Linked DNA regions of Homo sapiens: regions 2, 3, 4, 5, 6 and 7 are each linked to region 1. The links are contacts of gene promoters, found by promoter capture Hi-C in blood cells and fetal thymus (Javierre and others, 2016). All regions are on one chromosome and are shown on one strand. Each heading gives the region's core, a stretch centred on a gene start or on the middle of the fragment in contact. The rest is flanking DNA. Distances are from core to core; before and after follow the strand shown. Region 1 holds the start of ANLN (anillin, actin binding protein). Region 2 overlaps ELMO1 (engulfment and cell motility 1). Region 3 overlaps ELMO1 (engulfment and cell motility 1). Region 4 overlaps ELMO1 (engulfment and cell motility 1). Region 5 overlaps ELMO1 (engulfment and cell motility 1). Region 6 overlaps ELMO1 (engulfment and cell motility 1). Region 7 overlaps ELMO1 (engulfment and cell motility 1).

Evidence for each region. Contacts are between HindIII fragments. The CHiCAGO score rates a contact against its expected background, and 5 or more counts as called.
Region 2: a contact is called between a fragment that was not itself captured here and the fragment with the promoter of ANLN in region 1, in 1 of 17 cell types (naive CD8 T cells). The highest score is 5.1, in naive CD8 T cells.
Region 3: a fragment that was not itself captured here is called in contact with the fragment with the promoter of ANLN in region 1 in 2 of 17 cell types (naive CD8 T cells and total CD8 T cells); the score reaches 7.0 in naive CD8 T cells.
Region 4: a fragment that was not itself captured here is called in contact with the fragment with the promoter of ANLN in region 1 in 2 of 17 cell types (naive CD8 T cells and total CD4 T cells); the score reaches 6.3 in naive CD8 T cells.
Region 5: a fragment that was not itself captured here is called in contact with the fragment with the promoter of ANLN in region 1 in 1 of 17 cell types (naive CD8 T cells); the score reaches 5.2 in naive CD8 T cells.
Region 6: a contact is called between a fragment that was not itself captured here and the fragment with the promoter of ANLN in region 1, in 5 of 17 cell types (total CD8 T cells, fetal thymus, naive CD8 T cells and 2 more). The highest score is 9.1, in total CD8 T cells.
Region 7: a fragment that was not itself captured here is called in contact with the fragment with the promoter of ANLN in region 1 in 1 of 17 cell types (total CD4 T cells); the score reaches 6.6 in total CD4 T cells.

What each region holds. Positions count from the first base shown.
Region 1 is chr7:36,388,257-36,391,439 of GRCh38, forward strand. ANLN (anillin, actin binding protein) reads left to right here and starts at 1,606. Exons shown (of 24, transcript NM_018685.5): 1 at 1,606-1,788. The coding sequence starts at 1,771. It also overlaps a transcript of MATCAP2 not described here. RefSeq lists enhancers at 1,251-1,841, 1,842-2,432 and a silencer at 1,251-1,660. The HindIII fragment of the contact is 7,726 bases long and covers 1-3,183 here.
Region 2 is chr7:37,201,610-37,204,567 of GRCh38, forward strand. The region is part of intron 13 of ELMO1 (engulfment and cell motility 1); the gene reads right to left. Among named protein-coding and RNA genes, the nearest start is that of ELMO1-AS1, 210 kb to the left of the region's middle. RefSeq lists an enhancer at 2,409-2,958. The HindIII fragment of the contact is 2,965 bases long and covers 1-2,946 here.
Region 3 is chr7:37,366,826-37,370,104 of GRCh38, forward strand. The region is part of intron 1 of ELMO1 (engulfment and cell motility 1); the gene reads right to left. Among named protein-coding and RNA genes, the nearest start is that of ELMO1, 80 kb to the right of the region's middle. The HindIII fragment of the contact is 961 bases long and covers 1,203-2,163 here.
Region 4 is chr7:37,218,178-37,221,331 of GRCh38, forward strand. The region is part of intron 10 of ELMO1 (engulfment and cell motility 1); the gene reads right to left. Among named protein-coding and RNA genes, the nearest start is that of ELMO1-AS1, 220 kb to the left of the region's middle. The HindIII fragment of the contact is 1,761 bases long and covers 1,020-2,780 here.
Region 5 is chr7:37,243,336-37,246,686 of GRCh38, forward strand. It overlaps ELMO1 (engulfment and cell motility 1), which reads right to left. Exons shown (of 22, transcript NM_014800.11): 7 at 1,021-1,056. Among named protein-coding and RNA genes, the nearest start is that of ELMO1, 200 kb to the right of the region's middle. The HindIII fragment of the contact is 3,776 bases long and covers 162-3,351 here.
Region 6 is chr7:37,183,859-37,186,776 of GRCh38, forward strand. All of the region lies in intron 13 of ELMO1 (engulfment and cell motility 1), which reads right to left. Among named protein-coding and RNA genes, the nearest start is that of ELMO1-AS1, 190 kb to the left of the region's middle. The HindIII fragment of the contact is 199 bases long and covers 1,470-1,668 here.
Region 7 is chr7:37,347,614-37,350,599 of GRCh38, forward strand. The region is part of intron 1 of ELMO1 (engulfment and cell motility 1); the gene reads right to left. Among named protein-coding and RNA genes, the nearest start is that of ELMO1, 100 kb to the right of the region's middle. The HindIII fragment of the contact is 4,249 bases long and covers 1-2,986 here.

The sequences.
Region 1 (3,183 bases), core at 356-2,855:
TTTAACATATTTCCAAAGGAGTCCATGACTCCCCACAAAGGTTAAAAAAAAAAAAAACCCATGGGTTAACCGATTTGGCTAACTGGGTGGAGCCCTGACCCCAAGCAATATTTCCCTTACCTCTTGCCGTGATTTCAGTCACGTACAATTTATCATACAAAAATTCAAATTAAAAATATTAGTAAATTCTTTTTGTAATGTTGATTGACTGCTAAGATGGACATATTATTAAACATATTGAAACCACTCAGTTGGGAGGAATAGTTCTGTTTTGTTCAGCTCATGGACAGTCACTCTTAACTTTTCAGATGAACAAATCAAGAACTGTCATCTTTACCTGCACAGACTTGTTATAGAAGAAATGAATCTGATACAGAAATTATGTAACCTATCTTACAATTTGGAGTACTCTACAAAGAATAAGCAGGAGACACAGCCTTAGCTAGTGTGGAAAACGGGTCATGAGCTGAGAACAGGGTTTTCATTTCTTTGGACCAGTTTCTTTAACGTTTTCGGGTGTCCCTTCTCTCGGCAGTAAAAGGAAGGATTGAACTAGATAGAGGGCTTGTCAGAATTCCTCCCGCTCTAACACTGTACACAGTTGGATGGAATTTAAAATAAAAAATTGTGCATGAACGCTTCACACAGTCTGTTAATTTTAGCTTTATTTCATTGGCTTAGAGTGTCGGGGACCCACCGGAACTGGCTTTTCTGAGGGCCAGGCCTGCAGTCCCCCTTTTGGGGACTAGGAGTTGGGTGTGACCTAGGAAACAAAGCTACTGAAGGCCAACGGGCTAGCAGCACCTGAAACACAAGGGCTCTTTGTCTGGCTCTGTAGCCCAGGCTGGAATGCAGTGGTGTGATCTCTGCTCACTGCAACCTCCACCTCCCGGGTCCCAGTTCAAGCAATTCTCCTGCCTCAGCCTCCCGAGTAGCTGGGATTAGAGGCACGCGCCACCATGCCTATCTAATTTTTTTGTATTTTTAGTAGAGACGGGGTTTCACCATGTTGGCAAGGCTGGTCTTGAACTCCTGACCTCGTGATCTGCCCGCCTCGGCCTCCCACAGTGCTGGGATTATGTCCTGCCAACACAAGGGCTCTTAATCCTTTTTTTTTCTTTTTTGAGGCAGGGTCTCACTCTGCCGCCCAGGCTGGAGTGCAGTAGTGAGATCGCAGCTCACTGCAGCCATGACCTCCTGGGCTCAAGCGATCCTCCAGCCTCAGCCTCCCCAAATGCTGGGATTATAAGCATGCGCCACTACTCCCGGCCTTAATACTTTATTTAGGAATGAAGGAAGGCGGGAACACCCAAACGCGGTTGGTGTGAAGCAATCGCCTTAAAGCTGAGGGGAATGTGTGGTTGTTGGGGGTGGAGCCAGGAACCCGACGCCGTTGGAGAGCAGGAAGCGCCCCGCTGCCCGCCTCCACCCCGCGGCGAGGGCTGGGAGGGGGCCGGGAAGGAGGCGGGGCCGCCCCTGGGAACCACCCGGCCCGGCGCGGCCACGTGACCGAGCGCAGGGGCGGGGAGAGGGCGCCCCGGCTCCGCCCAGCGCGCATGCTCGCGGCTCGGCGCTGAAATTCAAATTTGAACGGCTGCAGAGGCCGAGTCCGTCACTGGAAGCCGAGAGGAGAGGACAGCTGGTTGTGGGAGAGTTCCCCCGCCTCAGACTCCTGGTTTTTTCCAGGAGACACACTGAGCTGAGACTCACTTTTCTCTTCCTGAATTTGAACCACCGTTTCCATCGTCTCGTAGTCCGACGCCTGGGGCGATGGATCCGTTTACGGAGGTGAGTGAGTTTGCGGGTGCAGCCAGCCATGACCCACCGCTCTAGGCCCCCACCCACCTTCCTCTGTCAACCTCTGGGCGAACCCCCACCGGGCGGAGGGCGCGTGTGTGCGCGCGTGCGCAGTGTGTGCGGGCCGGGGTCGCCGCGGCTGCGGCCTGCTGTGGTTGGTGGGTTCCTCTGAGATTTTGTTGTTTCGGTCCTACAGATAAAACTCAGGGAGGAAGGCTTTGAGTCTGTCCTAAAAGGCTGTTGCGAGAGGTCTTTCAGCCCCCGTTTTTACCATGTCCCTCTGCAGTCCTGGCGCAGCAAGAGTGAGGCGCAGGCCTGCGGAACGGGTCCTGCTGGAAGCAGCTGGAATGCCCTGCAGGGCGGGGTCCGGGGCCGGTGACTCAGTGCGGCTGCCGCCGGGAAAGGCAGTAGGATGTGTGATTTGCGGAGTTCACGCAGCCCGCAGGGGAGATGCTAATGAAATGACAGCAAAACGTTAAAATAAGCAGGTGCTAGAAACCACTGCATTCGTTCATAAAAAGCCAGTAGTTCCTTGAGATCCCATTGTTCAGCTAACTAACGAAGAAGTTCATACCCGGGACTGACCATTTTAATTGAAACAATGCAAGTGTACCGAGCAAAACTATCAGCTCACGATTTTAGAGCAAAGAAATAAACTTTTCGGTGTTTCTGGGGCATATCATTACAGTACTTATTTCATCTTTTGTTCCTTTGAGATTGCATATGGGTTACATGGTTATTGTGTCGATTTCTCTAGTTTTAGCTTTTGTGGAGAATGTGCGTTGTCACATTCAGGAGTGTTTTGTTGCCAGTTGTCCACTCTCTTTTATTCCAGGACAGTTCCTCTTTCTTTAGGCTGTTGTGCAAATTTCAAACTGTTAGTTTTTGAGTGTTGCAAAGTGGACCTAAAACTGTTTACACTGATTCAAAAACTTAAATGCTGTGAAGAGTGGTAATTCTTTCGGGGAGATGTAATTATAATTCTATAAGTTATGTATGAGATATTAATTACAGATTTCAGCAATTAGAGTTTACTTATATTCAAGCATGACATAATCTATTTTTCTGTTTCAAATTCTTAATCATCTTGGGACAAATACATCAATTTTTTTCACCTTCCTTAAAGGTTCTAATAGAAAAATCTAGAGCCTATTTTTGTATTAGCCTTAAAATAGGGCTGGTCATGCACCAAGTATCTTTCACTTACACTGAGGTCGAAAAGCGTGTATTTATTTTATCTAAACTAGAATACGATTCCTTAAAACATTAGCCCTATGTGTCTTCCTAAGTAACAGACAGGAACAAAGCATTTTTAAGTTGGCTGAAAATTGCACTTCATTTTACTTAAAAATGTCATTCTGAAGGTAGTACAAATCTCAACTGAAA
Region 2 (2,958 bases), core at 214-2,713, 810 kb after region 1:
GAGACCCCAAGAACCCCTGTCTTGGCCTTTAAACTTTAAACAACTTCAAACGTTTCAGGCTTATAAGCAGGGTTGCAACGTAACAGAATGTCCCAGCAGCTGGTCAGCCAGAGTTCAGGGGACTGGCTGAGAGCCAATGGCTGTGTGTTTGCGCCATCTGGTGGCTATTTCTGCTCTGGTTCACTAAGGAATTTCCTGGCTTGTTGGGGCCAGGGATGCCTCAGAAGTTATTAGAACTGAGGTCTGCAGCATTTCAGATAGGAAAAGAGAGAGTCCGGTCTGATCAAAGTGTCAAGGAGGCTGACAGTGTAAGATCTGGTCCCTGAGGAACAGGCACATCTCTGTGAGTTCATGCAGCCTGAACCATCCCAGGTAATCCCTTTACCCATGTCCCCCAAGGATCCTTCAGGTGAAAGGGGCTGACTGGGTCTGGTGGACTGGCTAGGACTGGCAGAGCTTCCCTGCAGAGCACCCCGGGACCTCCTGCATTCTATATAGCTATAACTGTATAAGATTTCAGTAAATGTGTGTTTTTAAATATACTGTTATTTTACTTTTAGGTTTATGGGTTAAATCTAAAATGTATTTGAAAGCAAAGTACTTGTTTCAGAATACTATCCCAGTTATTAATAAGGGATATAGGGAAAAGTGATTCGATTGACAAAAACCTGCATTATCTTGTGCTTTCCAGAGATGCTCTGTGGCAAAAAGAGAATACCACAAAAATTAAGTGAATGTCAAAATTTAATTTCTCCAATTCCCATAAATGTATTCTAGATTCTTACTAATGCTGTCCTTGTACTCCAAGAGACTGCACCACATTCTTAGTGATGAAAGCCTATGATAAAATCACACTGGGATCGGTGCTGAAATATAAGGCAAGTCCACCATAGACTGGCTTCTCTTCACCTAGAATGATTTTTCTGAGAATTCACCAGGTTTTGGGGATGCGGTATTTTGGTATAGCAGCCATTTCAAGGCAGTTTCTGGCTTTAAAATAAATGAATTGAAACACAGTAAGTTATAATACTTCCCCTGTGAATTCCAACATGGTACTACTGAGCAGTACTGAATGATCTGTAGAAATTATTTAGCTTTTCCTTCTTACTGTAATTTATACTTCCCTCAGGTGGCCATTTTTCCCCATCAGAGAGAGAATATGGGGCCAGGCCATAGTGCAGGAAAAAAATGAGCCACCTCTTTTTCAGGGTTTGTGGGTCAAATTGGTCCCAATGGCTTAGGATGTATTTCAAGGGTGAGCCTGTTGATGTCTCAGTGTTTTCCATCTGAAAGACAAAACCGCCCATGGTTTTGGTTTGTTTCTCCCCCTCCCCAAGAACCCACAACTGTCCCTGGACCCTGCTGATCGGAATAGTTGTGCTCACTAATGCAGTAGCAGAAACAACCCCTCCCCAAGAACCCACAACGGTCCCTGGACCCTGCTGATCAGAATAGTTGCACTCACTGATGCAGCAGCAGAAACACTAGTTTTCCTCCCAGACCACAAGGAGGACCAAGAAGGTCAGATTTAGTGGCCTTTATTGACACATTCTCGAAAACCTGGACCCTTGCCTGTCCTCCTAGACCACAAAGAGGACTGAGCAAAATTGTATTTAATGGCCCTTACTGACACATTCTCGAAAACCTGTTAGAGTCTTAAGCATTCTCCCGTTAGTATTGGGACCTTACCCATGTCCTATAAAGATGTTATGCCCGAAAAATGAAGTGGAGGGTCGTACCCTGAGGGAGGGAAGGGATCTCCAGAGTTGGAAGAGTGATGTCTTTTGTCCTCACTTATATGAATAGGAAGGATACAATTTCTGAGGCTCACCATATCCTAGCTTCAGGAATAGCTTTTGTTAGGCCTGATTGTCTGAGGAGGGATCCTAAAATTCCAGATAGTCCCCCTACAATGGGGCTTTGGGCAAAAATTACATCTTTCTGATTGGTGAGCCCGGGCACCTAAAGAAGGTAACAGAGTCCTGGAGTTTATACTAGAAATAATTCTTATAGGAGAAACTAGAAAAGCACCAGAGACAGGGAGTGGTTTTTTAGAAGTGGGACTAGCCTCAGAGAAGAGAGGCGAGAGGAAGTTTGTCTGGCAGGCATTAGGACCCAGGCGGCAAGGGTCAGAATAGATAGGATAGATGGGCGAGTCTGCTTGGACGACATGCCTTTGAGAGTTCTGCTCATGGCTGCAGGGTCAACCAACTTGTTGTTGGGATCCCAGAGCTGAATGGCTTTCCTCTCTGTCGACCCTCGGCTCAGCCCAGAAGTACAGGAAAAGCAGAAGCTGGTTCCAGGCAAACCAACGCTCCCAACTCCGAAGAGTCAGGGATTGTTAGAGAGCCCTTTCCCAGAAAGCCTGACACGTGTGTCTTTAGTCTGGCAGCCACGCTAGTCGCTTTTAACTGGCCAACAGGTGCCCAGTATTTAGCCCCCGAATTCTAAGGAAAAATAGGACAGAATAGCAAGCAAAAGGGGTCCGACGGTACTCACCATTTGGCAATAGGCATTAGTCTCACCGCCTGGCGATGGGCGATGGTCCCATCTGGGTGGCCAAAATGTGTCTGGAATTGGTGGGTTCTTGGTCTTGCTGACTTCAAGAATGAAGCCATGGACCCTCACAGTGAGTGTTACAGTTCTTAAAGATGGTGTGTCCAGAGTTTGTTCCTTCTGATGTTCGGACATGTCCAGAGTTTCTTCCTTCTGGTGGGTTCGTGGTCTCGCTGACTTCAAGAGTGAAGCTGCAGACCTTCGCGGTGAGTGTTACAGTTCATAAAGGCGGCATGTCTGGAGTTGTTCATTCCTCCTGGTGGGTTCCTGGTCTCGGTGACTTCAGGAATGAAGCTGCAGACCTTCGCGGTGAGTGTTACACCTCATAAAGGCGGCACAGACCCAAAGAGTGAGCAGCAGCAAGATTTATTGCAAAGAGCAAAAGAACAAAGCTTCCACAGC
Region 3 (3,279 bases), core at 433-2,932, 980 kb after region 1:
TCCCATCAATCACTGAGTTTGGAGATTCTGAGACAAGAGCGAAGCCCAGGATGCGTTCTTATTCCCAGAAATCAGATAACAGACTGATGAATTCTTTGAGAAAGTAAACAAAGATATTATGTGCTACTAAAATATACTTACATAGTTTCATCACATCAATAAAAGCAAAATCTCTCTAATGAGAATGTTGCAAGCCCAGCATTTCCTGGCCTCTGTCTCTTTCTCTGTCCCCTACCAGTTTCTCCTGTCTTGCTCTCTGGTGACCACACCTGACTTCTTCAAGTTCCCCAGACACACCACACTGTCATTCATCTGCTGTTCCTGAACTTCCCGCAGCTGACTTTCTCACTGTATTTGGGACTCAGACCAAAGGTCATCTCCTCAGGGAAGCCTTTCCTAGGTAACCTAATGCCAGTAAAATTGGCACACACACATTCCCAGTAATCCCTCCCTCTCTTTCTCTCTCCCACTCACTCCTTTACTCACCGCATCACTACCTTGCAATGTTACACACCGGTCTATGTGTTTATTGTCCTAATTCCACTCTGGAGTGTAAACTCTATGAGGGCAGGGATGTTTTCTTCACCATTTTACCTGTGGTCACATAGTATGCTATCAATGAATATCTGGCAAGTGAATAAGTGAATGAAGGAAGAAAAGGATCAGAATGGAAGGGCACCATTGATTTCTTAGTTACTTTAAGAAAATTCTTCAGGAGTACAGTGAAAAATAACAGGCTACAGGTACAATTCACTAAGTGTGTGACATGGAAGACTAGAGAAGACTAAGGAAGAAAGAATAGGTTAATTAAGCATAGTGCAAATTGAATATCACCCGTGTGTGGTAGGAAAAACTGGTGGGCATAAGACCAGCCACAGTTATGGAATCAGAATCCTCTAAGTCCCTACCAGAAACAAACAAACAAACAAACAAACAAAAGACACTGGAAACAATAACCCAAATGAGGTAATTTGCATGAAATTATTTTATAGCATATAAAGCAATCAGAAAATAAGTATATAATAAGCATATATTACCTCCTCCTATCTTTCCCTCCCCACTAATATCCATGGCAGACATCGAAAACAATCACGGATAATAAATGTAACTCCTTTCTGCTATCGCCAAACAGGACCAATACACAAGTCAATCATAATTTTTTAAAGCATCTTAGGAACGTAGGCAAATTAGGAATGGCAGAAAGCTTCCTTCCTAAAGGATATCTACAGAAAGTCTATAGCAATCATCATGCTCAACTGTGAGCCATCAAACTTTTCCTTTAAAATCAAAAACAAGGCAAGGAAGTCAAATATCACTGCCTCTATTCAATATTGTACTGGAAATCTCATTCTAAACATTTTAAGAAGGGGGGTGGCAAATTTTTCATTATTCAGATGATATTATTGTCTATCAGAAACTATTAGGATTAATAAGGCTTTATCAAGGTTTCTGAGTATAAATCAATATATTAAAGTGATTAGCATTTCTATACACCAGGAACAAAGCATCAGAAAGAACTATGTCTTAAATATACATTTCATGATAATAATAAAACAAGAAGATAGTGTTGGAGTGCAGAAAATGATTCATCACAATACGGAGCTTTGGCATGCTAAGTGCTTTGAAAAGTGAAAAGCCTCAGAAATAAGCCTCAGAACCAAGGTTTCTCTCTGACCTGCTTCCACCTCCCTGTCTCTGATCTTCTTTCCCAAAGAACCGGGAGGGACTCTCTTTGGAATTTCTTAAGACCCCACTCCCTAGGAATCTCATCAAATAGCCCAAAAAGATCAACCACCCAGGAAAAGAAGATCACCACATCTGGACAGGCTTTTCATCTATTCTCCTAAGGGCAACTCTCATAGATTACCTGGGAGGCTTTATCTGCATAAGATGACCTTTGCTCACAGTGAAGTTCCATCCCTCACCTTCCTGACACCTCCCTCAGAGCTCAGGGGAACTTTGTTACTTATTTGCACATTCTCTGTCTCCTCTCTCCCACATATAGAAGGGTATATAAGCATCTGGACTACATTGGGCTATTGGTAAATCATTCTCATGTGATTCCCTGCATTGTGCACATTAAATACATTGTATGCCTTTCTCTCCTTTTCATTGGCCTTTTGTCAGTATATTTTCAGCAAACCTTCAGGAGATGAAGGGAGAAGCTTTCCCTCTCGGCATTTTACAAGATATTTCTGTATAAAGCAATAAAAGTTATTGAAAAACATTAAAGAACACCAAAATAAACGGATAAACATATAAAGTTTAAGATTAAGAGAGCCCAATATTATAAAGATGTCAACAAGGTTATGTAACATTTATAGTCTGGAGGACTTTCACTCATATGGAAGCTTGATATGTGCCAAAAGTGACAGTGCAGACCAGTGGCTGGGGGAGATGGAAGGGATGAAAATCCCTCATCTGAAATACTTGGGACCAGAAGTGTTTCAGATTTCAGATTCTTTCAGGTTTTGTAGTATTTGCATTATACCTACTGGCTGAGCATCCCTAATCCAAAAATCTGAAATCTGAAATGCTTCCATGAGCGTTTCCTTTGAGTGTCATGTCGGCACTCAAAAAGCTTTGCATCTTGAAGCATTTCAAATTTTGGATTTTCAGATTAGGGATACTCAACCTGTATTTAATAAGTGGCATGGGGACAATGTAGGGGGCAAAATGAAATCAGCCTCTACTTTACAATCCACATTAAACAAAACAATTCCAGAGATTAACTATTTGAATGAAAAAGAAAAACAGACATCTCAGAAAATCTTAGGATACAAGAATATCCTAATAACCAACGGGTAAGAAGGATTTCTTAAGCAAGCTATATATAGCCCAAAATGTAAAAAAAAAAAAAAAGAGACTGACCAATCCATCTACAATATAATTAAGAATTTCTGCTTATCCAAAGGTTTGATAAGAAAAAATATAACAAAAAAATTTTAATAAAAAAATAGAAACCACATATTGAGAGAAGATATCTTCAATGGTGGGGCTCAGAAAACGCCCTGAAATATGGTGCTTTGACATGCTGAACTAATGAAGCAGCCTCAAGGTCTCCCTCTGACGTCTCCCTACTCCTTCTGATCCTCCTTACTATTCGAAGCACCAGGACTGGCTCTCTCTTTAAGTTCCCTTATCTGATTGAGAAAACTTCTAAAAGAAATGCAATTGCCTCAAAACTCCTTCCCTAGGAATCTCATTAAATAACCAGGAAACATTAACCACCAGAGAAGAGACTAGAAGTCTCTATGCTCAGGACACCACGCCCAGTCA
Region 4 (3,154 bases), core at 650-3,149, 830 kb after region 1:
ATGAAATTATTGCTCATAAATAAAGACGGAAAAAAATATTTCTGTTCCTATGTTTGTCTATCAGTCTATAAAATTTAAAGTTAGAAGGGACAATGTATGTCCAACTTCTACTAAAGAAATCATTGTAATTGTCTGTTTACAATATTTATTGTCTGCATAAGACTGTGAGTCCCTCATGAGCAGAAACTGTCTTTTTCTTTTTTGTATTCCAAGCCCAAAGTACAATGTCTGACACCGAGAAGACAATAAATGTTTGATAAAATAACAAATAAATATTTTATACTACCCTCCTAAGGAACAGCAGCTTGGTCAAAGAGAAAATAGAAATATCCATGCCTCCATTTTTTGGTCTAATAGTAAGGAATTATTGGAGTAAATGTGAGAATCCATGGGGAATATTTTATAGCATTAAAATTATGTAAAAGTATAGATAGCTACAAATATGAATCCAGATATACTGACATGGAAAGATGTCCACAAAATATTGTTTAGTTTTAAAAGAAGTTTAGAAAAACTACAATGCATGTAGTATGCTCACATTTGGTGAAAAAAAATGATGTATTAGGAGAATATTTGCACAGAACAAACAGGGAAGTAGCACCATGAAAGTCACAAGAGTTGTAAATAATTGCCGTGGTTCTGCCTCTGGGAATATAATTACAGGAATCTTTCAAACTTCTTCCTTTTGAGTCAGTATTTTCTGATTTTTCTACCAAATCTTTTAACTAACAAGTTTTTTAAATAGTGCTTATCAAAAGTATAAGTATTTGTAGAGAAATTTGGAAGGGATCTCACCAACATATTTGCCATTGAAATAGTGAACTGAATAATGGTAAAAGTTGTAAGCAAAAGGATCCATTTGCCCGCCTAACAGCAACCTCCTCCCCGACAAAACTAGCCCAGCCCTTCCCTCCGTTTGTGCCAGGAAACTGAGAATCTCCTACATCCCAGAGGCATGGGAAAGCAAGGCCTCCACCCCTGGGGGAACCCTAGAAGGGAAGGGAGTTCCCAGAGGAGGAAGCTTTACCCTAGGCCCCAGCACAGGCCTCTCTCAGTAAGGCCTACCTCACAGATGCAAAGGAAAAAACAGCACAGGTCCTTCTGACCATGGTGGCATTTTTTTCAGTAACAGCAGAAATAAGGTATAAGTGTTTAAAAGCATTCCAAATTCAAAGAAACCCCAGATAATGGAGTCCTGTGAATGTGTCTGGCCCCAAGTCAAAAAAAGATGAAATTTTAAAAAAGTATTTGACTGAAGTGGAATCAGGCTACTCCAAACAAAGCAATGGTTCTAAGGCTTTAAACAGATACAACAAAAAACAAACAAAAAATAGTGTTCCTGCAAATCCAGTAAATACATGTTTAGATTATATTTCAATCTAATTGGAGTGAGAAAATGGGCTTGGTGCTATCCAGGCTTCGGGGAGTTGTTTACTTGGCAAATACAGGAGAATTCTATGAGTGACATCTCTGACAGGCGTTGGATGGGATGCTTTGCAGGTAAAAGCAGGGATAAGGTTGAGACTCGAACTCTGATTCTTACCCGCTCAGTAACCTGGTCAAGTTCTTTACTCCCTTTGAGGCTCAATTTCCTTACTTATAAAACAGAAATAATGTGGCTTTCTCTGAATATGAGAATAAAATGAAATAATGTAATATAAAACACTGAACACTGCTTGGCACATGCCAGACTCTCAATAATATTATCATTGATGGCTGACTTTGGTCAATTTTCCTATTTGCCAAAAATTCAGAACTTTTAATTTTTCAGAACATACGCCAATAACAATGCCAACGTCAAATTCAGACCAGCTGAAACTTTATTTTACTTAGAACATAGAGCCCAGACTAAGGCATACAAGCTCAGCTGTTAATATAAATCCACAGCAACCCACATGATGTCACCAGTTAGCTCAGTCTTCTGCTTTACAGGCCTCTACTGACCTTCAGAAAATAATATCCAACAAACTTTTCTTCATTATGAATCTGAAATCCCTTTTTAGAGCTATCTCGCTACTCACTGAAATTTTTTTAAATTTAAAAATCATGATACTCCCTTTATTTTGATGAACAACATTCTTAATTTCAAGAGTTTATAGTTTATGAAGTCCACATCACTTTTCCATGGGCAAGTAAATTAAATACCTTGTAGGTATTTTTTAGAGCTTGAATGAATGAGTCATATAATACTTCATAAATTTCTGCTGAATTATATACAGTCTTTCTTAGTTGGAATCTTTTCTTAAATGGTTTAAGGTTATTAGACTACTCTTTGTCATGGTTTATTACTCTTTGTGGTGGTTTATTAGAATAATATATAGCCAAACTGTCTCCTGTCAGTCTTATGTTGCATAGTTTTCAAAGAAAGACTTGATTCACAAAATCCAAACCTAATCTTATATCGACATTCCATTATATTACCATTATTATCAATGTCCTGAAGTTAGTACAGATTGACACCTGATTCCCTATTTGTCCATGGTCATGAGAGTCCAATTTAACAAATGAACAGTAGTGTTTGGTATAAAATAAGATGCAGTAAGCATTTTACTCATGTCTAGATTCAGAGATCCAAGTGAAATGGCCTTTAGAGTGGGCATGAACTTTCACCTCCTCTAATCCATCCTCTTCTTTCACAGATGGGGAAAGGAAACTTCCAAGAGTTGAGATCAGAATGCAACCTTCCTGACCCCACACGCTACACTCAGCTACCATGTGGCTGGGCCAGAAGTCCCCAGTCTGGCCAGCAGAAGGACCCCGTTGCTCCAATGCCCAAGTCAAGCTTGGGTATGTACACGGTGAGAGCTTCCAGACAACTTCCGGGCTGCTTGGGAGTTATGAGTTCGGTATTTAGACTAAAATATCACAGAAGCAGCCCTATCGATGATTTCACCTCAGATCTGCAAAGCCACTCCTAAAAATCCAGCCACGGTAAGACTGCCCCTAGCACAGGCTTGTGGAGGGCAGGCACCTCCACCTGGCTCCAGCGAACACCAAATCAAACGTCCAGGAAACTATAAAGTGACACCACTACTTGTGCAAACACAGCCCCCCAGGGATGAATAAGAAATTCTAAATGGAAAACAAACCAGAACCCCTCATGTTTAGTCACTGAGGTTTAAAATCCTTGGCAATGAAAAAGCAAAATAAAATC
Region 5 (3,351 bases), core at 800-3,299, 860 kb after region 1:
AGGAAATACCGAGCTTGTATGTTGAATGTAAGTGTGGATTTGGAGTAATGAGTGTAAACATTGAGACAATGCCCAGGATAAAGTCTCATAAAAAGTGGCTTCTACTGTCATTACCATTAAGTGCTTCTACTGTATTAAATACATCAAAATGAAATTTAAGAAGCTTTACCCTAGAAGCTCAATATTGCTTTCTACTTTATTAGAATTTAATAAACAGAAGAATTCCTGCAACTCATACTTTTCTGTGTGTGAATGATTTGAGACCAGCATAATACTATAGTACATTGAAGGTGATGAGGATTTTCTCTGAGAGCTTACAAAATAAGGTTCACACTTTGAGACGCTGGTCAGTGTTCCTTCTCAAACTGAAATTATCTGCTTAATGGCTTGGCACCATGAAAATCTGTTCGGCCTACTTCAAACAGTTTGTTAGAACCATATTTGGACTCACCCTGTTTAATGGTTAAGAAAGAAACTTAGAAGGGAAAACTCTAAGAAAGAAGGTTTCTATCTTCAGACACAATCATACAATTCACTTCATAGATAGGTGATCGAGCACTTTCTCAGACTCAAAGTAAATAATTTTCATTGCATCCTTCAATCCTGGATACTTTTAAAAATGTGAATCCGTTTTCTTTCTAAGCCACTGAAGAAAATCAAAGACTTTTGACTTTGAACATCACACAGGCCACATAAAAGTTAGTTTTGTTTAAAATAATACATAAAATTATGCTTAGCACTGCTCCAGAAGTAGGGTAGCAATCTTTCTGTGGTTACAGCATCACTTAGTGGTTACATACATAAAATATTCTTTCTACTCCAAAGCAAAAAAAGGGGGGAAAATACATTTTTGAAGAAGTTGTTTATAAAAGAACATCAAATAGAAAACAAAAATAACAAAAAATCACTTATTCAAAATACTAGATGCATAGTTATACAATCAGTCAGATGACAGGGCTCAATTATGCAGGAAAGTAGGAAGGGTTAAATCATCAATATCAATCGATCAAATATTCTTACCAAGGCTTCATGATCTTCTGCAATTTCTGGTATCGCCTGCAAAATTTAAAAACAACCATGTGAGGAGCATACTTAAAAGCAACAATTTTTACACAAAGAACATATCTTGAAGAAAACTCAGGATTAGATTTAGGACAGATTTAACTGCCATGAAGTAAAAGAATTTTATCCATTTCAAGACATCATTCAAAGTAATAAACTGGTGTTCTTTAATGATCAGAAACAAACAATCAAAAGATCAGCATTAAACTACTGTCATTAACCAGTTGCATTTGCTTATGAGTAAAGGCATCCAAAACCGTCCATTTAGATCAGAATGGGTCTGTGTTCAATGGAGCGGGGTGGGGTACCCATAGGGATAGGAATTGATACATTTTAAATGAAAAAACATTGAGACAAAAACCACTAGACTATAAAGAAATATTTTATTATCTTTCTTTGGTAGAATGTCCACTAATTTTACTTTCTCTTTTCTCTCTCAGGTGGCTTCTTCTGTGGGAAGATGCTGCAATCAATCTCTTTGCAATAAGACATTGCACTAGTGTTAAATCCCAAAACTGAACTCTGGGCTGGTGGCTTAGAATAGGCAAATCTGGCTATAATAAAGGATACTTATGCTTTTTTAAAAAAACTAGGCTCAAGAATATGAAGAAACAAGTGTTTCAAAACTGGCCAAACCATCTCTCATTCCTCAAGTCTGCCAAATCTCTCTGGCTTTAAGTATGATCTTCCCTCTTTATGAAACATCCATCCCCTCTTTGCCCAACTCGCTAAGTCCTACCCCCAAACTCATCTCATTCTAGGCTCATTCTGGGGTCCTCTAGGAAGTCTCTCTGACTTCTGATTTCTCTTCCTCAGACAGCATAGATGGTGCCTGCATCGCAGGCCACAGGCCCTGAGGACACATCAGCTATAAGCCTCAGGACATCTCACTGTCCTTCTAGCTGCTTGAGGGCTAGGACTCTGCACTGTGACAATAGCGTAATGTGAGGCACATCCAGAGTAGGGACTGAATACACGGTTGACAAACGATTTTGCTCTTCAGAAATTTTCACATTCTCAACCACATAAAATGTAACCATTTCAGAAATCCAAATCACCAGGCAAAGACTAAATTTAGTCTCTGGTAAAATTTGTGGGAGGGGGATTAAAAATGCATATAAAGAGATATTTTTATTCCTCTTCTGCTCCCCCTCCTTTACCTGCCTTTCTTTTAAAAAATATTTACTATTTCCCATCCTTCCTTCATCAAAAAGGCATTGGGCAGGGTGAAAGGGTGAGACGGGGAGGCAGGCCTGAGCATAAATTGGCAGCACGCAAGGGCCAGAGGCTACTCTCCACTAAAAGGAACCAGGGCTCCTTGGGGAAGTGGCTCGTATTAGGGGTGGGGCAAGGAGATCTAGATAGTTCTGGAACATCTTGTTGAGCCAGAAAGTAAAGAAATGCTCAAAACATAACGCAATACAGGTCAAAAGGACACAGAAGTCAGCTTGAAAGAGCTCCCACAGGCCACATCAGGGACACGCTGAGCATCAAAATCAATAATAATAGTGATAGATTAAACCCACTGAATAAAACAGGAATGAATTAGTCCACATTGTTATAGAGTGATGTGCTGATGTTGAAACACCAGATCTCTGGGGAAAAACACACGAATCTGCTTGATATTATTTTCCGATTTCCACAGTGTAACGACTCTCACTATGGCCAACTTAAAGAACCAACATGAGGTCAATGAACGCAGAGCAGAACAGAGTTGTACAAAAGTGGCTCTCAGGAGCTGGTATGAGCTCCCCACTGGAGATAAACATGTAGGTGAATAAATACGTAGGGAAAAAACAGAGCTCTTACTACCAAAGAAAACCAACTAATACATGTAGAAGAAATCATAGTATTAGAAAATTTTCCTTTGGAAATCATCAGAGCAATAATTAATTCAGATAAGAAATGTCAATGCCAAAACTGATGGGTGAAATTGGGGTAATGAGGCTTTACATAGTTTCACTGTGTCTCCCTACAAACTTTTCATGAATTAGCTGCTAAGGTAGGGAGAAAGTATTATAGTGGAGACATCTGGAAGATGCTATCTTAATGAAGTGGTCAAAGTTATAACCAGTAATAAAACAAAGAGATACCATGTGCCATCAACAGGACGAAATGGGGGAAAAAAAATCACAACCATCTGTTATATTCCAGCCAAAGACATACAATATGGGTCTTCATAAAGAGAAATTTTTGTTGTAATGTTTGTTGTGATGAGAGAACACTGGATAAATCTGTAAAAAACAAAATCTTGTGTTTCAGTAGAAAACTAAGCAGCGCCTACAACAT
Region 6 (2,918 bases), core at 319-2,818, 800 kb after region 1:
TAATAGCTTACATTTATAAAAGATCTATTATATATTGTTACATACAACTTCAGAAATTTTATTTTTTGTTTCTAGAATTTCCATTTGGTTGCTTCCTACTGTTTTCCATTTCTCTACCAACACCTCTAATTTCTCTGCTAAGATTCTCATTCATTGAAAACATGGTTTGTTTTTCTCATTGGGGATAGTTATCACAGTCGTTTTGAACCTTTTGTCTGTTAGTTTCAACATCTGGTTCATCTGAGAGCTGGAGTTGATTTTCTTTTGTCCTCATTCTCCATGATCTGGGAATTTTGGATTCTTTTCCAGATATTATGAATGTTAGGTGGTGAAGATTCTGGATTCTGTTTTTTCTCCAATGAGTGTTGCTTCCTTTGTTTTAGCAGATAGTTCTCTTGTCTGTGCACAAACTGCAAACTGTTTCCAGGGCTACAAGTCTGGTCTTAGTGAGATCTTCTGTCCATAGCTAGGTTGCTTTGAGTAGGCTCCATGCATGTGTGGTTCAGAGTCAGAGATGTGGGGAGACACGGTTTAGGGGCACCCTCTCTGGCTACCTTTGTGTTCTGGCTCCAGGCACTAATGCAACAACTGAAGACACTTGTTGATATGGGCTCCTGTAATTGCTCTACACGGTCAAGGCCAAAAGTGAATACGTTGACTGAAAAGCCATACTTTCCAGAGGATAAAATTATTGCAAGCCAAGGATTAAAACATCCATTTAAATCAAACTGCTTTGGCTGAAACCTTTTACTATGTTTATGAAGTCCGTCATGGCATGATGGCTCACACCTATAATCCTAGCACTTTGGAAGGCAGAGGTGGGCAGATCACTTGAGCCTGGGAGTTTGAGATTGGCCTGGGTAATATAGCAAAACCCCATCTCTACCCCCCAAAAAAGACAAAAATTAGCCCTGGTGTGGTGGCATGTTACTCAGGAGGCTGAGGTGGGAGGATCACTTGACCCCAGGAAGGTGAGTCTGCAGTAAGCCATGATCATGCCACTGCACGCCAGCTGGGACAAAAAGTGAGACCCCGTCTCAAAAGAAAAAAAAAAGTCCATCACGAATTACTTCATTGCTATCCTTTTTTCTCTTGTTCTACATATTTGACTAATCTTCATATCTATGAAATAGGAAGTCATAATTTATAATGAGTCTGTCTATTATAACTAGACGGACAAATAGAGTATAGGCTAATGTAAAATATTTTGCATTTCCTCTCTCATCACGTCATTAAAAACTGTCTTAAAGAGCGGAGTTATTCTGAATCAAATATGATAGCCTAAATGCAAAGGATCGACAGATTAAGTTGAATTTGTGGTCAATCTTTATTCTTAGCAGAGCAGCAGCTAGCTAGAGTTTTAAATTAGAAACTGCTTCTATGCTTTTCAAAGATATTACAATAGAATTTGATACTGAGCCCAGAATATTTAATAGGGAGGTCTAAGTAGTATCATTTATAGAAATGAAAGCTTTAATATTACTCATTCTTTCCATTTACTACTTGTTAAAAATAACATTGTATTTTAATTTTCATAAAGTAAATGAATAGTCCTGAAAAAATAATAAATGAGTATTTATGTGATAACTGAGTTCCAAACAAAGGTCCACTTTCTGGGCAGGGGCTTGTAGTGGGCATGGTAAACCCACTCAGATCACCCTAGATTCAAGCTTTTGTTGGAGAAACAGCACTGTATATATATACATACCATATATATAACGTGGAAGGACCACATAACCCTAGATGTGACTGATTGTGCCAACATGGTTACATGGCTCAAGCCAGACAAGATTTTTGATCCAGAAAATTTGAAGTACTCTTCTTAGGGATCATTTATATAGGTCTACTTATAATAGCATACAAAAGAATGAAATAGGAATAAATTTAAAAGATAAAGTACAAAATTTATATTCTGAAAACTGCTACACAACACTGTAGAAAGAAATTAAAGATGACCTAAATAAATCAATGGGTATCCCATGTTCATGAATTAGAAGGCTTTATCTTGTTAAGCTGGGATGGCAATGCTCCTCCTAAATTGATCTACAGATTCAATACAATCCCTATCAGTAACTCCGCTGACTTCTGCGTAGAAATCAACAAGACAATCCTGAAATTCATGTGGAAATTCAAGACACCCTCCATAGCCAAAATAATCTTGAAAACTAACAAATTTGGAGGACACACACTTTCTGATTTCAAAACTTACTACAAAGTTTCCATAATCAAGACAGCGTGGACTTGACATAAGAATAAACATATAGCAATGGAACAGGATTAAGAATCCAGAAATAAGCCTTCACATTTATAGTCAATTGATTTTTGACAAAAGTGTCAAGAAAATTCAATGAAGAGAGAACAGTTTTCAGCAAATAATGCTAGGAAAACTAGATATCCACATGCAAAAATGAAGTTGGACCCCTTCCTTATGCCATACACAATTAACTCAAAATGGATCAAAGAACTAAATATAAGGGTGAAAATTATAAAACTATTAGAAGAAAATGTAGGTATACATCTTCATGACCTGGAATTGAACAATGATTTCTTAGTTATGACACCAAAGGCATAAGCAATAAAAATAAAAAACAAACTAGATATATATCAAAATAAAAATCAAATTTAAAAACTTTCACGCTTCAAAAGACACTCTCAAGAAAGTGGGAAGGCAATCCACAGAATGTGAGAAGTTGCAAATCATGTCTGATAAGGACTTGTATCTAGAACATACAGAACTATTACAACTCAATGATTAAAAGATGAACAGCCCAATTAACAAACAAGCAAAGGATCTGAACAGACATTTCCCCAAAGAAGTTATAAAAATGACCAATAAGCACAAGAAAAGATGCTCAAATATTATTAGCCATCTGGTAAATGCAACTCAATACCACAATGAGATACCACTTCCCTCCCAT
Region 7 (2,986 bases), core at 106-2,605, 960 kb after region 1:
TGTCTGCCGCCATGTAAGAGCCTTCTGCCATGATGGTGAGGCCTCCCATCCACATGAAACTGAGTCCATGTAAACCCTTTTTTTCCTTTATAAATTACCCAATCTCCCGTATGTCTTTATTAGCAGCATGCAAACGGACTAATACAGGCGGTAAGCTAGCAAATCCTCTAGGCAGATTACCGATGATCAGGGCAACCTATCCCATCCTTGAACTGGACACAAGGCACATGGTCTCATCAGGCTCTCCAGGAAAGATCAGCACACAAGCCCAACTCCTCTTGGTGAGGCATAACTGAGAAGGAAATACATTCTAAAATCTTCAGCCAACAAAGTCAGCATCCTGGTGTCCTATGCTTCCCCCAGCATAACTCTGGGGTTACTAGACTCCCTTTGTCAACTTCTCCCCACTACATCTGGAGTACTCTAAGGGCAAGGTCCACATCGCATTCACAGTTACAGACTCAGGGCCGCGGCAGGCAGGCATTTTAATACATAGCTGTTGTATGAATGCATCCCCTCCTCAATGAACATCTCATTAGAGCTACCAGCAGTACTGAGCCTAGTGTTATCAAAATTACCAAAGTAGATAACCTAGTATTACTTAAATTGCCCAGTAAAATACCAGCTACAAGAAGTTGTGTAGACAGCCGGGTACAATAATTCTTATACAAACTAAAATTTAAGAACCATTAAAGGGAGAAACAAAAGGGAAGTCTAGGCAGGTGGCTAGACATTCTAATCATCATGCCTTCCAAAGTCACTATCAAATCCCAGGTGGTGGGTAAAGAATGGGCAGAGAATGCTATACCGTTCCTGCTTGCCTGCTGGCTTGACTTTATTCCATTCCAAAAATATGGGAATTGTTCCATGTTTAATATTAAGATTCTATCACCTCGATATGCATGTTAAGTGGTGTGTTTATAGTTGAGTGGATTAAATAAAGAGGAATCACTTCTTCTAGAGTTAGGTACTGAAGTCTGTATAGCAGTAACATCTGACTCTATAACCCGTGAACAAGCCCACTCTTCCACTAAATGTCTCCGTAGGTTGGGTGGCATTTTGAAGACGACAGACAGAAATCGCTTTGACTCCCACCTAGAAACTCATCTCTCTACACATTGTTCTATGCCCCAAGTTCAACATGCCTCTTGCTGTAGTCTCTTAAAGATCTGTTACATCTCTACAGGTTTTTCCATACAGCTTAATTAATTCTTTCGGTTCCACAAAGGTCCCAAATACCTGATCACTTTTTGTTGTTTTTTCTGAATTTCCCATATAGTTTTTTAGTTTTGGGTGACTGCAATGGCTTTGAACCTTTTAATGCTCTTTGTAGTCTTTCTGTTGCACAGTAAACCCTACTGAGAAAAAAATTAAGCCTGTATGGCCATTCCTGTAGAAGCTGTGTGTTGGGGAAACGAACACACTTGCCCTGGTGAACCGTGTGTCCCCTCCCCTACTGCACTCACAAGCCCAACAGATGGGCCAGTGGAGGCCAGGGCAGATCAATGGGAGAGAAACACCAAACAGCTGGAGAAACGATCTGCTTCCACTCCTCAGCCCCTTCCTTCCTCACCAGAAAAGCTGTCCTCTGTCCCGCTAAGTCATTATCTACTGATGATGGATAATGGGTTTATAATGATGATGGGGATAGTGGAAAGGGAGCTGTTCATCTCATATTTTTAATGTTGAGTTGTCTCTGATAGAAAAAGACATAGACCACATTTTCCCCTTGCATTAGGTTAGGCAGAAAGGGAAAGGGCTTCAGGAGGATCACCCACTGAAAGCAGCCCTTCCCTCTTGGCACTGCTGTCTTCCTGGAGCCCTCTAGTCTTCACTTTTTTTTTCTTTTTCTTTTTTTGAGATGAAGTCTCACTCTGTCACCCAGGCTGGAGTGCAGTGGCACAATCTCAGCTCACTGTAACCTCCGCCCCCCGGGTTCAAGTGATTCTCCTGCCTCAGCCTCCCGAGTAGTTGGGATTACAAGCAGGCACCACCTTGCGTGGCTAATTTTTGTATTTTTAGTAGAGATGGGGTTTCACCATGTTGGCCAGGCTGGTCTCGAACTCCTGACCTCAGGTGATCTGCCCACCTCGGCCTCCCCAAGTGCTGGGATTATAGGCGTGAGCCACCACACCTGGCCTAGTCTTCACTTTTGAGAACACCGCCCTGCATGGTACACTGAACCTCAGAAGGGGCCACCGAAATAGGCTTTGGGTAAAAGTTTTGCTCTTCTCTTCTTTGTGCTACCATCCTTCTTATGCCAAACAGACTGAAATTGTCTCAATACCTTTAGTGTCTAGGTCAAGGAATACATGAAGTCGGTGGTGTGGTCAGCTGACATTATTCAGGATGTATGAGTGTCCAGGTTTGCTGAAGCCAGTCTTTGTTTCCCATGGGAGCAGCAGTGGTGGGCACATGTCCCCCCACCTGCCCTACACTGGAGGGTCTGGATGGATGGGTATATGGTGGGGGTGTCATTTCAGGTTCCCGTATCAGGGACCTGATGGCCATTCTGAAGACAGCCCGGGGCCTAAGAGGAAGTTTGTGGCTTCAGAAATGAGGGAACACGGTGTGTTCAGAACAGAACATGCAAGCACTCAGCAGAAAGAGAATAAACAGAGAATGGAATCCAGTGTGGAGGCTCAGTATTTCATTTTCTGTACACGCTAGCCATGTATGCTAATCTCAGCAACAATTCAGCCCATTTACTTGACAGGTGGGGAAATGTGCTATTAGCTACGGTTGGCTTGCAATATAATGGAAACTTGCAGAGAAAAGTCTTTGCTTTCCCAGTGTCTGGCATTGACATCATGAAGGCTAGGGGACAGCTGCCAGAAGGAGTGGCAGACAGGCGCCTAGAGCAGGCATGGGGCTGGGCACCGTGGACACGCACTTTACTCACTCTTCTTCACAGCCCTGAGTGACAGGTGTTATTATTTGCAGTAAATTAATGAAGATACTAAATCTTAACTAGTTTAAATGACTT